2 separate regions of the Homo sapiens genome follow, and region 1 is linked to region 2. The links are contacts of gene promoters, found by promoter capture Hi-C in human tissues and cell types (Jung and others, 2019). All regions are on one chromosome and are shown on one strand. The core of a region is centred on a gene start or on the middle of the fragment in contact, and the rest is flanking DNA. Distances in the headings are between cores, read along the strand shown.

What was found. Contacts are between HindIII fragments. The study calls those that stand out against the background at their distance.
Region 1: a contact is called between a fragment that was not itself captured here and the fragment with the promoter of HP in region 2, in 2 of the 25 tissues and cell types used here (H1 embryonic stem cells and pancreas).

The regions. Positions count from the first base shown.
Region 1 is chr16:72,126,353-72,131,294 of GRCh38, forward strand. It overlaps PMFBP1 (polyamine modulated factor 1 binding protein 1), which reads right to left. Exons shown (of 21, transcript NM_031293.3): 11 at 4,181-4,370; 12 at 3,861-4,005; 13 at 2,714-2,881; 14 at 2,305-2,442. Among named protein-coding and RNA genes, the nearest start is that of DHX38, 35 kb to the left of the region's middle. RefSeq lists enhancers at 2,042-2,842, 3,672-4,173. The HindIII fragment of the contact is 3,275 bases long and covers 114-3,388 here.
Region 2 is chr16:72,051,506-72,056,421 of GRCh38, forward strand. HP (haptoglobin) reads left to right here and starts at 3,000. Exons shown (of 7, transcript NM_005143.5): 1 at 3,000-3,152; 2 at 4,656-4,738. The coding sequence starts at 3,148. The HindIII fragment of the contact is 10,372 bases long and covers 1-4,916 here.

The DNA of each region.
Region 1 (4,942 bases), core at 501-3,000, 74 kb after region 2:
TTTCCCTCAAACAGCAGGAGTACCAGCGGTGCTGGGGCATGATATGCCAAGTACACAAAAAAGTCCCTTTCACATACTCTGCAGCCTTTGATAAAGACCTGGAATCCGATTTGAGGTTAGTGGACATGATAACAACATGTCCTTTGTGTTTTATGCCTCACTTAGTTCCTGATGTAATTCACTAGACTTGATGTGCCAGAAAGCAGGACTGTGCCTGTGTTTTGTTTCCTGCTGTTTCCCCATTGCTGTAACTCAGGGCATGGCACATGACAGAGTTTCAGGAAATGCTCAAAAATGGTCTTTGTTCTGTCACGTGAAATATTGCATTTTTGGAGTTAGGGATCAATTGATCAACATGTTAGGGAACATGTAGTTCTGGTAGAAGTGTGTTTAAAAACTGAAGTCTGTTTTCAACATCGTAATGAGTATTCATGGTATAGTTAAAAGGAAGTTGGGATCTGGAGTCAGAAAAATCTGGGTTGAGGTCCAGGTTCTATCATTTACTTATTTCTCTAGCCTCAGTTTCTGCTTCCACAAATTGAAATCATTTTAACTGTTTCGTGGAGTTTTTATGATGATCAAATGAGGTGATATGTGTAAAAAGGGCTTTGTTTTACTATACGACTATGAGTTACTGTCACAGACACACACAGAAACTAGCCTTCTTATATACTTTAAGTACAGGACAGAGATCTGCTTCTGAGTCTGGAAGCCAGAGGGAGACCTCAGAAATTCATATGCCTGACTTGTATTCTTTGGTATTCTAGCACACCTGCATCTGAAAGTGGCCATGCACACAGAAACACATTCTTTTGGGTTTTCTTGTTTTATCTCCAGTAACTGATCAGTGCTTCAAGTTTATTACTTTTTCAGATACAATTTTGAGTACCTCTGGCCCTGGGAATTAGTGAGATGAAAAGTGGTAAATTGGACTTCTGACACCATATTTTACATGCCCTGGTGGTGAAACTATTCCTAAAGATGAAATAATTTGGTCTTCTGAAAACAGAAGTGCATCTTTTCTGGGGACTTCTGAAAAACATGGAGTCAGCAGGGTCTGCCCAGTAAACCAGAGGAATCACTGGAGAAACTATAATTCACTGTCAATGCTTGATAAATGATGGCTGAACTGAGAAATGTCAGTATAGAGGTAAGACACTAAAACTGAGGATGGTGAAAAAAAATTACAGTGAAGCTAGAAGCTAAAATGGAAGCTTTAAAAATTTTTGCTAACATGAGTGGTTTAGCTTGGAGAAAGATTCTAAAAATCTACATATAGAAGTATGTAAATTATAGAACCAAGAAGTTCTAGTAAAAGTTCTAATAAAAGACCTACTCTCTCTGCTGTCAATGGTATTAGGTCTAGATGGTTTTATAGGTGAATTTCATGAAGTCATCATTGATTCCTCACTTTCTCTCACATTCATTCCATCAGCTCAGACATACAACTTTTCCATCATCACAGAAAGGCAGCAAGTTCTACTGGGCAGTGCTATTTTTATACTTAGAAAAGTCATACTACTTTAAGATTTATTTTTATATTATGAGGGAATAAGGGCTGCTTGGCCTTTCATTTGTAGCCCAAGAGACCAACTACCAAGGTGTTATATTTTTCTCTTGCCCAGAAAGATGGAATGGATTTAGCTGGAGAAAGTATGGCTGCTTATGATGAGGGAGAAAGGGAACAGGTGTTAGAGCTGGATAATTCAGGTTCAAATAGTGGTTGATTCCATCACTTGCTGGTCAGTGACTTTGGCCCTCCATCTTTCTTTCCTCTATCATGTCTTTCTTTTTGGCAGTAAAGCAGATGGAAGCCATGTAAAGAGCTTAAGTGGACGACAAATAAATGACGACTGAATTCAAGCACAGTGCTTAGCATATGTCAGATGCTATTTACTCCTTTCTGTCATTTTTACTTGTGTAATGAAAAATAACTGTCCCCCCTTTCATCTCCTTTTTGTGCTTTGTGACAAGTTTTGGAAGTGTTCCCTAGCAAATTGCCCCCCAAAATGGATTCACTCAACTCTGGTCTAAAATGTAACATTGGAAGACTTGATGCCAAAGCCCAAATAGCTTGGGGCTCCACCAGATATGAGATGAGACCTTCCACATATGGAAGAAACATTTCTCTGGCTCAGCAACCAGGTGCCAATGGGGAGGGAAGTAGAGCTGTAGGTGGCCCAGGATCCGCAGTTGGCTGAGCAGTTAGCTGCATTTCTGTGTGGAGGAGAGGTGGGTACAGATTTCAGGTCAAGGGTCACAGGGTTCAAATTCCTCACTCCCTTGGGGTTCCTGTCTACTCACCTCTTTATTCAAGTCTTGGATGACTTGCTGGCTGGTGTTGTATTTGTTGAGAGAGGATTCCAGTTGTGTAGAACAACACTGTAGCTCTGCTCGGAGATTCTCATTTTCTTCCTCCAACTTTCTGGAATTCTCTTTCAACTGTTCCCTCATTAAAGAACAAAGCACAGCAAAGAGGTGTTAATCTCAGATAACTATAAAAGCCCCACTCCACCCTCCCTCTCACCCAGCTCTATCTCCACCCTGCGGGAGCTCAGGCATTCTCGCTCCCCTCCTCGCTGGCCTTTCCCACTGTCCCTCCCGTCTTTCCTAAGCTCTGAGCATCCAGGGCCTCCGCATCCCTGGAGGCCCAGGTGGGGTCATGTCCCGCTCTGGATTCCTGACCCAGCTCTCCTGGGATTCTCCCACTCACCGTCTTGTCTTTCTTTTTAAATTCCTGCCGCAAAGCTTCAAGTTCTCCCTCCATCAGCTTCTCATGCTCTTTGCTCTTCTTCAACTGCTCCCGTTTGTCCTCCAGAAGCTTTGTGGCCTCCTGAAGATCTTCTTCTAACTTGCATTTGATGGAGCCTTGCTCCCTGTGCTGAAAAAATAAAGACTGAGCTGAAAGACTGTCTTAGACTATATTATATTTGGGGGAAAAATACAGACAATTGCACACAGGGCATGGCTGAGATGAAGAAGAAGACAATTCCTTAGTTATATAGCATATGTAAAATAAAAGGTTTCCTCCAACGCCTGTAACATTTTTTCTTTGTTCAGTCAGATATACCAATTTATTTTATTTATTGATCTAATTCCTAAGCACCAGCTTTCTCTCCCACTTTCTTACCAATTCTTCCCAAAGATTAGGAAGATTCCAAATCTTTATCAAAAACCTTTTTGAATGAAGTTTAAAAAATCTTAGAAGAGAACAAAAAGAGTAACTCAGAGATCAAAGACTTTAAATTGACTGACAATTATCTCCTACTGCTGGGCACTATTTAAAAAATAAATAAATTGATAAGAATAGCTTTTGAATCCTAGAAAGAACAACATTGTCATTTGATTAATTTTAAGGTTAACCATTGAAAATGCTTCTTACTGGTAATGGGAGCTGGTGCTGAGTGGCTGGCTTAGCATACTAACACAATTCTGGTCAATTAATTTGCATGGATTGGTGGTGATATCTTTCCCAAATAATGACTGATATGTTTAATCTTTTTCTTTTTTTTGAGACAGGGTCTCACTCTGTCACCTAGGCTGTACTGCAGTGGTGCGATCACAGCTCACTGAAGCCTCAATCTCCCAGCCTCAAGGGATCCTCCCACCTCATCCTCCCAAGTAGCTGGGACTACAGGAATGTGCCATTATGCCCTGATAATGTTTGTATTTTTTTTTTTTTTTGTAAGGCAGGGTCTTGCTATGTTGCCTAGGCTGGTCTGGAACCCCTGGGCTCAAGTGATCTGCCTGCCTTGGCCTCGCAAAGAGCTGAGATTACAGGTGTGAGCCACTGCTCCTAGTCTGTGTTTTATCTTAAGCAGAGCAAGCACTTGAATGGGCCATCTGCCTGCCCGTCATACCTGGTGCTTGATACGATCAAGCATGTCATTCATTTTCATATCCTGCTCAGCCACTGTCTTCTGAAGCTGCCTCTTTTCCTTGTCTGAATTTTCAAGCTTCCTCAGGGCTTCAGAGAGTTCTAATGACAGCTCCTCCACCCGTTTTCTAAAGCAAAATAACAGCCACAGGAGGACAGACTTCAGTGCCCATGTGGGCAGATTGTGGAGCTGACCCAATGGGAAATCCTTGCTCTCCCACGCCTGGGCAGCTGCCCACAGAGGGCCCGGCTGGGTCAAGAGTGACAGAACCTCTCTCTGGAGGGGAGCCTGAGCCTGGGCACCTGTTGGAGGTTTGTTCCTTCTCAGCCATCGAGGACTCCTTCTGCAGCATCTGAAGTTCTCTCTGTAGTTCCTGGATGGTGTCTGCCTTCTGCTTGTCCAGGAGGAGACCCTTCTGCAGTTTCCTCTGGGTGTCCTCCAGGTGACAGCCTGCCAGTGCAGCCTCTTCTTTGCACTGGGCTGCTTGCTGAGCTGCAGAAGCAGGGAGATGGCCATGTGAGAAGGGAGGGTGTATGAAGATCACACTCTTATCAGCCTGGCTGAAGAGTTTTTCCTTTCATTTTGTGCCCTACTTCAGTTCCCAGTCTGTCCTCATTTCTCTCCATTTCATGATCAGTCCTAAAGAGCTCTATTAAATTATCTGTCTTTGTCTCAGATGTGGACACCTTCTGGACTAAAATTAAACAAACTGGTAGAAATTTCTCAGCAACTCCTGTGCGACTCATTCTGTCACTGGGGACAAATCCTGACCCTTCTGGAGTTTAGAGGCTCCTGAGGGAGGCTTACTGGCCCACCGTCCTAGAGAACACTGTCATGTTAAACTCGCACCAACTAGGCTCAGGAAGAGAGATCCACATGGGTTAGAACGCTTGGAGATGGATGAGTGGAGGAACAGAAGCTGAGATGTAGAAAAAGAAGTGGGAGGAAGGGAATTCCAGGGGCGGGGATTGTTAGAGCAGATGCCTGGTGAGGAGAATGCGGAAGGTGTGTGGGAGGAGGGTAGAAGACACCAGTTTGACTGGAAAGGGAAGTGGGGAGGAATG
Region 2 (4,916 bases), core at 1,750-4,249:
CATATATGTGTGGGCATATATGTGTTTTATTAAAAATAAAGCACAATAATATAATGTACGTTAATGAACCTACTACCCAGCCCAAAAGCTGGGTCATTAACAATTTATTTATATTTACCTAAGTGTCTTTCTCTTATGCCTTCCTCCTACCTCCTCTTGAGATGTAACATTTTACATTTTGGGTTTTCCATTCCAACAAGAAATTTAAAAATACAGTTTTGACTCTTTGATATCTATGCCTGAACAACATACTGCTGAGTCTTCTTTCTTTCTCTTTCTTCCTTCCTTTTCTCTCTTCTTTTTCTTTCTTTCTTTCCTTCCTTCTCTTTCTTTCTCTTTCTCCAATAAAAATAAGTTTACTTATTTACTTCTTGAATTTTTTGTGCTAAAATATTTGTAACATAAAATTTCCGATTTTAACCATTCTGAAGTGTACAATTCGGCAGCATTTATTACACCAGCAATGTTGTGCAACCATCACCACTATCAGTTTCCAAAATTTTTTCATCACCCCAAACAGGAACTCTGTACCCATTAAGCAATCACTTCCCATTTCTTGCTTCTCCCAGCCCCTAGTAAAGTCTAACCTACTTTTTCTTCTATGCATTTGCCTATTCTCTAGATACTTTATTATAAGTGGAATCAAGTAATATTTGTCCCTTTATGTCTGGCTTCTTTCACTTAGTATGTTTTCAAGGTTTATTCATGTTGTAGCACGTATCAACTTCATTCCTTTTTATACGTGAATAATATTCCATTGTATGTAGATATCACAGTTTGTTTATCCATTTGTCTGTGGATGGACGCTTGGATTGCTTCTACCTTTTGGATACTGTGAAAATGCTGCTATGAACATTGGTGTACACGTCTCTGAGTCTCTGATTTTAATTCTTTGGGTGTATACCCTGAAGTGGAATTGCTGGGTCAGATGGCAATTCTATGCTTAGCTTTTTGAGGAACGATAAAACTGTTTTCTACAGCAACTGCACCATTTTACATTCTTACTAGCAAGGTAATGTACCAGGGTTCTAACTCTTCCACATCCTTGCCAACATTTCTCTCTCACACACACACACACACACAAATTTGTAGCCATCCTAGTAGGTGTGAAGTGGTGTTTCATTGTGGTATTGATTTGCAAATTTCCCTATTGACATTTTCCAATGGTGTTGAGTGACTTTTTTTTTTTTTTTTTTGACGACGTCTCGCTCTGTTGCCCAGGCTGGAGTGCAGTGGTGCGATCTCAGCTCACTGCAAACTCTGCCTCCCAGGTTCAAGCAATTCTCCTGTCTCAGCCTCCCAAGTAGTAGCTGGGACTGCAGATGCATGCCACCACGCCTGACTAATTTTTGCATTTTTAGAAAATATGGGGTTTCACCATATTCGTATTGGTTAGACTGGTCTCAAACTTCCGGCCTCAGGTGATCCACCCACCTCGGCCTCCCAAGGTGCTGGGATTACAGGTGTGAGTCACTCCCCAGCCTTGAGTATCTTTTATGTGCTTTTTGGCACTTTATGTATATTTTTTGGAGAAATGTCTATTTAAATCCTTTGCCCATGCTTTAATTGTTTGTCTTTTTGTTGTTGTAGTTAGGATATGCTCTGGATAACAACCCTTTATCAGATATAGAATTTGCAAATATTTTCTCCCATTCTGTAGACTGTCTTCACTTTTTTTTTTGAGACAGAGTCTTGTTCTGTCACCCAGGCTGGAGTGCAGTGGTGCGATCTAGGCTCACTGCAACCTCTGCCTCCCAGGTTCAAGCAATTCTCCTGCCTCAGCCTCCGAGTAGCTGGGATTAAAGCATGCGCCACCATGCCTGGCTAATTTTTGTATTTTTAGTAGAGATGGAATTTCACCACATTGGTCAGGCTGGTCTCAAACTCCTGACCTCATGATCCGCCCACCTCAGCCTCCCGAAGTGCTGGGATTACAGGCGTGAGCCACCACGCCTGGCCTGTCTTCATTTTATTAATACTGTCTTTTGATACACAAATGTTCATTCCGATGAAGCCCAATTTATCTAATTTTTCTTTGATTGCTGGTGATTTTGGTGTCATTATCTAAGAATCCATTGCCAAGTTTTACTTGGTTTTGATCTCTAGAAGACTGCCATCATACTGAAGGTAATCTTCTGAAACTTGCGGTTTTCTTTCAAAAATTATGTTTATAAGATGATCCATGTTCTTGCAGAGTTTATTCATTTTATGCTGTATAATATTCCATTATATCCACATACAATGCAGTATTGACCCTTCCTCCTGTTGATGGGCATTTGTCTTGTTTCTAGTTACTTTGCTATTATATCAGTGTCACCATGATTATCCAAAAGTAATTCTTTTGTACACTCTAATTTAAGAACAACTAACCCTTTTTAATGAATAAATCAACCTTGTATTGAGTTGCTACTAAGTTTCAGTTGACTAGTACCTGGGATACACACAGGTGCAGACATTTGACTGAGACATATTGATTTTTCTCATCTGCCTATTTAGGCTAATCACCAGACTATAAAACCATGAGAACCACTGCCATTGAGTATAGTCTGTGTCAGTCTACACTATAGCTTTAACTAGTTGTGTGATTTCTTGCAAAGAGCAATCAGAGAAGACACAATAAACACATTTACTGATTTCAGGCTGGAGAGCTTTTAAGCAATAGGGAGATGGCCACACACAAGGTGGAGAAAATTACTGTGAAAAGGAAGTACTTTCTTTAGAGCCCCACCTAAGCTAGGCTGCAGAAATGTCTACAATGGGTTTGAAAAAACTCAAAATGAGCCTTTCTGCAGTGTGAAAATCCTCCAAGATAAAGAGACAGATTGATGGTTCCTGCCGCCGCCCTGTCCTGCCCAGTTGCTGATTTCAGGAAATACTTTGGCAGGTTTGTGGGTCATAGAGTTGCCAGGTTTCTTGGGATTTGTAATAGAACATCACAAGAAAATCAAGTGTGAAGCAAGAGCTCAACTCTTAACAGGGGTATTGTTTGTGGTTTTGTTACTGGAAAAGATAGTGACCTTACCAGGGCCAAAGTTTGTAGACACAGGAATTACGAAATGGAGAAGGGGGAGAAGTGAGCTAGTGGCAGCATAAAAAGACCAGCAGATGCCCCACAGCACTGCTCTTCCAGAGGCAAGACCAACCAAGATGAGGTGGGTCCACAGCTTTCCCTCCTGCCTTTCCTCTGGTTCTTTATTTCAGTCTTTTTTGCATACATCGGTAGAGATGCAGAAATAGAACAAAGAAACGGGCAAATGGGCTAAATTATAGTGAACCAAAGGGCTTAGTGTGTTAAATCTTCTCCTTTTCTGCATCCATAGAAGACAGTGCTGCTGTCTTTCCCAGGAGATAAGATTTACTCTCAGGAGTGTCTTTTTCCTTCAGGTTACATTTTTGACTTTATAGGGTATGTCATCAGCTCCCGTGGTAGGCTTCCTGGCATCCTGAGTATATTTATTAGCAGATATTTTCCTCTTTAAAAATGTACAATAAGGAAGACTAATAGTAACACATTTGAATGACACAATTAATTGACTAGTACCTGGGATACACACTAATACCTGGGATACATCTAATTAAGGCACTTAGATCTTATAAAAATAAACACTTTTTGAAATGTTGAAATAATAAGACTAGAAACTTTTTTTTTTTTTGAGATGGAGTCTCGCTTTGTCACCAGGCTGCAGTGCAGTGGCATGATCTCGGCTCACTGCAACCTCCACCTCCCAGGTTCAAGTGATTCTCCTGCCTCAGCCTCCCAGGTAGCTGGGACTACAGGCGTGCGCCACTATGCCCACCTAATTTTTGTATTTTTAGTAGAGACGGGCTTTCACCATGTTGGCCAGGATGACCTCGATCTCTTGACCTCGTGATCTGCCTGCCTTGGCCTCCCAAAGTGCTGGGATTACAGGCATGAGCCACCGTGTCTGGCCTAGAAACTATTTTAATAGAAGCAAGTAGTGCCCGAATGGTTGGCATTTGTTAGTGAGATGGTGAACTGGCAGACGGCACCTGTGGGTCAATGCCCATGGCCACCGTCCTGCTTTTGGACACCAGTTCTCTTCCAGGTAACCTTCTGGCATTTTGGGGTTTCAGATACCATTTCCTAAAGGTGAATTATTATAAAATACTAGAAATACCCACGTGTTTAAAATTATATATTTAAGGAACCTTTTATTACGGAAAATATCAAGAAGTAGAGGAATAGCACAGTAAGCCCAAAGTTCCCATCTCTGAGTTATCTACATTTTATTACCACTATCTTTGCGGTGTCTGAGGGAGGTTTCTCTTTCCTGGAGGGCTCCTGTATTATTGCCAATGTACTTTCCTGAATGCAGCCAGAAACTGAGCCCACCCCTCCACCTATGTGCCTTTCTATCCCTCTCTGAAGCTTCTGCAGAATTCCCAGCAGGACAGGGCTTGCTGGAAGCTTGGTATGCTCAGAAGCTGCTAAAGTGTGTATGGGCAGGTGTGGGGGCAATTTCTTGGTCCTAGCACTTCCATATATCGACTTTCTTTTCTGGCTGCTAAGTGGGAGGAGTGTGTGTGTATGCATGTGTGTGTGTGTGTGTGTACATGCATGTGTGTGTGGATGCATGCATGTGCTGTGAAGCAGGGAGACTAGCTTTCCACTCCTCCTTGTCTTCTCTCTGCAGTGCCCTGGGAGCTGTCATTGCCCTCCTGCTCTGGGGACAGCTTTTTGCAGTGGACTCAGGCAATGATGTCACGGATATCGCAGGTCAGTCTTTGGTTGGGTAGGAGTGTGCATCCCACTCTGACCCTCTCGGGTCTGCACTCTCTCTGAGAACACCCAATTCCCCCTTCTTATCTCGACCTCTGGGCTTTCAGGACCATAAAGAACATTGGGGTTCCTGCCAGAAATGAGGGGAGCTTGCCTTTCCATTGGCTTCTATTCG